Regions from separate parts of the Homo sapiens genome. Here region 2 is linked to region 1. The links are contacts of gene promoters, found by promoter capture Hi-C in blood cells and fetal thymus (Javierre and others, 2016). All regions are on one chromosome and are shown on one strand. The core of a region is centred on a gene start or on the middle of the fragment in contact, and the rest is flanking DNA. Distances in the headings are between cores, read along the strand shown.

Region 1 (3,351 bases), core at 539-3,038:
AAGTGCGGTCTGAGGACCAGCAACTCAGCTTCACTAGAAATGGAAATTCTCAGGCCCCATCCCGGGTCTATTGTGTGGGGGTAGAGCATGAAATCCATCTTAACAACCTCTTCCAGTGATTCTTATACCTAATACAGTTTGAGAAGCTATGTTGTAAGGAATCCAAAAATGTAATGCAGTTTAACCCCCTACATTTTCATTTTATGGAAGACTAAACTAAAGTAGTAAGATCCTCAGCTAACTTGTTGAAAGTCATTCAGTAGTCTTGTGGAAGAGCTGAGATTTAACTCCAATTACCTTATCTAGGTCTTCAATCTAGGGGGGCTAAGAAGTGGGAAGCTGTTTGCTGTGATTCCAGAGAACTAGATAAAGAAAGAAATCAAGCAGCAAAGACAAGAGACCTACTAATAGAAATGTAAAACGTATCCCATTTTCTGTTCTTGGACACTAGGTGAATAACCATTAATGCATCTGATAAGCAGAAAGGATGACACAGACCTGTAAACAATCTGCCAGATTTTCTTAGTGAAATGTTGACTCACAGGATTTCTTTTAGACTCCTAATAATATAGTACAATAATTAGACATAGCATAACACAGTGACTTATTTTCATTCTTCATTATTTTTCATTTTCCATTAATAACTCAGCAAAAACCATCCGATGTTTACATTCAACATTCTCTGAACTTTATTGCAAATATACTCCAGAAAAACACCATAAAATGTTTTGGTAGTTTTCCCTTTAAAATAATCAGAACTGCATATTGACAGATAACATGAGTAGACCGCACTGAACAAATAACATTAGCCAATTTACTACCAAACATGTGGGCTTGCATTCATTTACCTGTCTGCGTCTCTAATTTCAAAACTTTCAGTAATCCATCTTCACCACCGCATGCTATGAACCCTTGTTCCTTGTTCCAGGATACACACTGCAGCTTCACGTTATTGGGAATGGAAATCTGAAAAAGCAACCACAGCCGCACTAGCAACTTTTCACGAAGGAGCTGGGAAGTAAGTCTGCAGGAGATGAAAGCTGAAGAAAATCTTCCAAGAAGAAAAACGAACGGCCTTGCAGAAAAAAAATGAGCTGTTGTGAAAATGGGCATGGTCCCCTGAACTGACCCGGGCTCTAGCATTTGGGAAAGAGGGAAAGAAGTGCACAAAAGAGAAGGATAGTGACTGCGGAGGAAGCCAACGCCAGAGTCTCACCGGATGGATTTTTTAAAGGGAGGACGGGGAGAGGGTATAAATCCATACCACCAGTCCCTCTTCCTTTTTACCTACAACTTAGGCTATCCTATTGTTATTTCTTTTCTCTTGCCCAATGGCTCGTGGTGATCCAAAGAGTTTAAATCACGTGGATCAGCAACAAGTGGAGGAGGAAACATAGGGTAGCACGTGGCGACTTATCCTCAAGCCACCCAAAAGGACCTAGCCAGGGGCAGGAATGGGAGAGTGCTGCGAGAGGGCAGCAAGCTCGGCCAAAGACTGAGGCTCTGGGAACCGCAGGAAGAGGTCGGAGGCTGGACCCGGCGGGAAGGATGGCTGCGGAATGGCGAAGCCACGACCAGGACCGGGTGAAGGAGCCTGGCTTCTCGGGAAGGCAGCGGGAATCGCCGCAGGCTGCGGGAATGGCGGAGAAACGAGGACGCCCCCCAGGAAACTCACTTTCTTGCTCAGGTAGAAGAACATCGTGGGATCCCCGAGAGGGTCACGGCGGCCGCTAAGGCCCTCGACAAGTAACGGTTCTACGTCTCCAATCGGGAGTACCAGCAGCTCCGGAAAGCTCCCGTCGCCCTGGCAACCGCTGTTGCCCGGTCGCATCCGGGGCGCCGCGGGACACTTCCGGTGACGCCCTCGCACCGGGCACCGGCGTAGTGCGCCTGCGCGGACGTCGATGGGTTTGTGGGCGCAGGGCGCGAGGCGCGAGGCGGTAGCTGGGCTAGTCCTGTTCCCTGGCGTCTGGGCCTTTCTGCTCTCCGCAAGGAGCTGGGTCGCGACCTGTCACTGCCAGCCGTGCGCTCGCCCTCTGCGCCCCGTCTCGTGGTCACTGCCGCCCTCCCTCCCGCCACACCTGTGATGATCGCTATGGAGCCGCGCCTCAGGTGGCATTACTATAAACCTAAGAGGAGAGGCGCCCGTTCGAATAAGGGCAAATTATTTAGTATTTTGTAAGTTCCAAAGTTCCAACATTCTTGAAAGGGAAAAGCCATTTACTGTATTTGATAGGCTGGCGCCACTGGCCAGATGAAAGTGCAAATGTGCGTACTGAGATCTTACAACCCTTCTCTGTGTCTTTGGGGATTGGAGAACCTCTAGAGCAATTTAGGAATAGAAGATTTTGTTTATTCCGCTTGTTTTGATATTTTTTAACAGTTTAATTATTACCGCAACCCCGAGGGTCCTTTTAAAGGAATTTCTGTAAACGTTGGGTAATTACAGCGTACAATTGCTATTGGGGCATGGCCTCCCATTTTACAAATATTTGAGCGTTTGGTGTTTTCTCGTCTAGAGTCGACTGTTACATATTCTCTTCTTTTTCTTACCTTCTTTCTTCATTCTCCTTTGTCCTTTTGGAATGCTTGAGAGTTACAAAGCCTCAAAGTCTAAGGCATAGGGCAGAAATCCAAGTAGAACCACTCATGAAATTATTTGGTCTCACCTATGTTTTTATTTCTGGTTTTCCCTTTTACCATAATCTAGCATGTAATTTATGCATCAGTAGTTAATTTCCCCACTTGGAGTCTTTTCCCATCTCAGACAAAAATAAAATAAAAATCCTCCAATCCTTTGACCTGGGTGATTTGTCTCACCCAGCACAATCTATTATAGAATTGACAATAGTCCCTAGTGCCTTTCCTAGCAAATCTAAACTCCATCCAAAATCAGATCTTCCCTCAATCCTAAATGTTTTTACTAGGGAGCCCCCACCTCAAGTAAGCCAATATGCTTTCTGCAGGGCAACATTCCATCCGGCTCTGCTTCCCAAGCCACTTTATATATGGTCCTACCCTCTTAACAGGCCAGTTGTGCCTAGCCAAACCAGCACAAATCAGTCTCCATGAGGAATTCTTTCCAAACTTAACCCAATCCCATTCAGATAATGTTTGCTTTCCATTGTTTGTGTGTCTGTTTAAGATACATTGGCCCCTGTCCATAGGCTCCCTATACTGGACGCATGAGACAAATTAGTATTATCTAACCCAGGAGTTTCCAATAAACTGGTCAAGACATAATTAGTTGAAGCTAGTTACTGATGGTGACACCTGAAAACTCACCTCTCTTTATCTTTCCCTTCTTGCACATGAACTCTCATTTATTCCTTCTATACCACCATTTCTCTG
Region 2 (3,351 bases), core at 461-2,960, 310 kb after region 1:
TCCATCCTCAAGGAATCCAACCTCAAGGCTACCAATAAACTGATAGGACACTTAACCATCTATTCAACATTTAATGAATGCCAATTTTTGGGTCTGACACTATACAGATAATATATTCAGGGAACACAGATTCCATAAAACTAAGATTTTTTAAATGCTCATTCATCGTTTCTCTCAGAGAATTTTGACTACTGAGATGGATTACAAGATACTTTTAAAATATTTTACTTTCCAATCTATAACACAAAACTGGGGAACATTCTGGTACCAAGCATGCTACAATGGTATTTGAGTTGAAAACCTTAAATTTTAAAATATTTTTCATATTTCAGTCACGATTCTCACAGAACAACTGCAAATTATAAGAAAACAAATGAGACGTCAGCATTTATGTGGTTAGGAAAATGAAACTGAGTCAAGACAAGAAAGCACTAGATAATATAAGCAGAAAGAAAAATAGAAGGGAAACTAGGAAAATAAGAATAAATTGTTCCTGCTCTAGTCTACTTTATTCAAGATAATATTTGATTCCTAGAAAGTAAATAGTTTTATGCACAATAAGCTTCACCATTAAAGTAATGAATAAAATGTCATGATTCCTGACTTACATAACAAACATGTCCTAAAATGTTATCAGTGGAATTTTAGGACATCTTTATTTGTATTAATGTATTTTTAAAAGTCAAACTCTCGGTTTCACGTTGCATTCAAAGGGGAAAAAAGCCCAGTATATTTGACTGAATCACTAAAATAAAAAGCTTTTATTTCTACAGATAGCCAGGTAAGCTGAACCTGAAATGAGGACTATTAAAACACCGAATAGAGTTTACCAAAAAAAGGGTACATTGTAAAAATAAAACAATAAAAAGATACATTGTAAAAATAATAAAAAGGGTACACCGTAAAAATAAAACAATGAAAAGGATACATCGTAAAAATAAAATAAAAAGGACACATTGTAAAAATGAAAGGATATATTATAAAAAATATAAGTTTTGTAAACTCTATTCATAACATCTACCTAGAAACTCATCCAACCTAGCCAGGAGCCTGAATTTATTAACATGCTGAAATTATTATATTTTGGATATGTTGGGACAAATTAAAGAGTATTATTGAAATTAATTTTATTGCTTTTTACTTTTATATTGTGACTACTACAAAATCTTAAACTACATTTTCTGGCTCACATTGTATTTCTACTGGACAATGCTGGTCCTAGAAAACTTAAGTCCAAAATACATAGAATGCTTATACACAAACTAAATGACCTCTTCAAGTTACTTCTATCAGACCCACAGTTTAGTGGTTCTCTGTATTATACCAACACTTTACATAGTAACATCCAGTTAAATGGCACCAGAAAAGCTCACATCCTTATAGAATCACATCCAAGTCCACACCAAAAGCTAATGACAGCTTAGTTTCATTGTCGTAGCTAAGATATCAAATATAAATCTGAAATTTCTTCCCCGTTTTTTAAAACAAGATCTTGACTTTAAAAATCAGTCTTGGCCGGGCGCGGTGGCTCACGCCTGTAATCCCAGCACTTTGGGAGGCCGAGGCAGGCGGATCACAAGGTCAGGAGATGGAGACCATCCTGGCTAACACAGTGAAACCCCGTCTCTACGAAAAATACAAAAAATTAGCCAGGCGTGGTGGTGGGCGCCTGTAGTCCCAGCTACTCGGGAGGCTGAGGCAGGAGAATGGTGTGAACCCGGGAGGCGGAGCTTGCAGTGAGCCGAGATCGTGCCACTGCACTCCAGCCTGGGCAACAGAGCGAGACTCTGTCTCAAAAAAAAAAAAAAAGTCAGTCTCCTAGGAAAATACTGACTGTCAGAAGTGGGTTTCAAACTGATTAGTGACAATATTTCAGTCAAGATATCGCTCAAAGCCCCCCCAGCCCCCCCAAAAACAACAGGGACAGCCTCAAGTTTTGAAAGTCAGCCCATTAGCAGACTCATTCCAATAAACAAAATTCTAAGGCAGATATCAACCTATTCTTGCCTGTATAATCAATATAAACAATGCCTCAGACTAACTCATTTCTGTCTTTGTAGCCACCTCAACCTAAAACAAACTCTTCCCAAGAACCCCAACTAAGATCAGCAAATCGCTTTGTTCAAATAAGACTGTGCCTGATCAGCACACAACTTTTCCTTACTTACACAGACAATAAATACAGCTTTTTTGTTGTTGTTTTCATTTTTAGACAGTCTCACTCTGTCACCCAGGCCAGGCGCTTCGGCATCCCAAAGAGCTAGGATTACAGGTGTGAGCCACTGCACCTGGCCAGCTTTGGCTTTTATTTCAGATTCTGGGTGGTAGTCTCAGGCTGGGCAGTTTTTAGTACGTTCTTTCCAACTTGATCCAAACTTTTTGTCCCCCACCTTGTTTGTACATTTTAGCATTGCTCAAGAAATTTTAGATACATATTTTCTCAGAATTACTGTATCTGTTTATCTTACTCTATTCTACCCCTGACCTATGTATGCAGGCCACCTACCTCTATTTTATTTTCTGAGAAGTAATTTTACTTTGCATTGTCTCTGCGGGTAATGGGGTTTGTCATTAAAATGGAGATTCATGGTTGACTATATAGATTTCTAAAACTATAAAGCTGAAATGTAAGCCAATTACGTATACGAGGAAAAGTTATTGCTTAAGCTTTTCCCTGTAGCATTACAGTTGAAAAATAGTACTAACTTCCTGGAAACTTTAGTTCATTCTGGATAATGTTTCAGTTTTTCTTAGGAATTTCAAATTGCCCAAATAGAGAAAAATAAAGCTTACACCCAAAACTAAATACATTAAAAAGCAACCATAATAAAGATGAACAAATAGTATGTTACCTGCTAATGTAGCTGCTGCAGCCAATCCTGCTGCAGTATACGGATCGGTCCCTGGAGGAGCAGCACTAATAATGTATGGATTTGGCACAAATGCAGCTGGAGCAAGGCCTGCTGAGAATACACCAGCTATATTTTAAAAGGGGAGAAATAATAAACAACAATGTAAAGTATGATTTTTTTCATTAGATAAAAACATTTCTACTCTGAATCTGGGGTGGTGTGGGGGTGGGGAGCAGAGTGTGCATAATGGTTCAAATTTTTACTAAGTGACCTTGGGCATGTACCGCTAACTCTAAATTAGTTTTCATTTAAGAAACAGCTGTTTTGCAGAATTGCTGTGAGAATTAAATGTAATACCGATTATGACATAACTGTACTGTCTCGAGGTATGTTATAGAAAATAAAAATATAAATTCAAAAAGAAATGACTGCACAGTATGTATTAGCATGAGACTGGCATAAAATAAATGTGAGAGCCAGAACTGCTACTGGTAAATAG

Evidence for each region. The method cuts DNA at HindIII sites, captures the fragments that hold promoters and counts their contacts. A CHiCAGO score of 5 or more calls a contact.
Region 2: a contact is called between a fragment that was not itself captured here and the fragment with the promoter of WDR35 in region 1, in 1 of 17 cell types (M2 macrophages). The highest score is 5.2, in M2 macrophages.

Annotation. Positions count from the first base shown.
Region 1 is chr2:19,988,317-19,991,667 of GRCh38, forward strand. It overlaps WDR35 (WD repeat domain 35), which reads right to left and starts at 1,789. Exons shown (of 27, transcript NM_020779.4): 1 at 1,676-1,789; 2 at 849-966. The coding sequence starts at 1,699. It overlaps WDR35-DT (WDR35 divergent transcript), which reads left to right and starts at 1,888. Exons shown (of 3, transcript NR_110235.1): 1 at 1,888-2,178. RefSeq lists enhancers at 1,520-1,569, 1,586-2,089, 1,720-1,769 and a silencer at 1,930-2,009. The HindIII fragment of the contact is 12,234 bases long and covers 1-3,351 here.
Region 2 is chr2:20,294,701-20,298,051 of GRCh38, forward strand. It overlaps PUM2 (pumilio RNA binding family member 2), which reads right to left. Exons shown (of 21, transcript NM_015317.5): 8 at 2,853-2,978. Among named protein-coding and RNA genes, the nearest start is that of PUM2, 54 kb to the right of the region's middle. The HindIII fragment of the contact is 1,909 bases long and covers 757-2,665 here.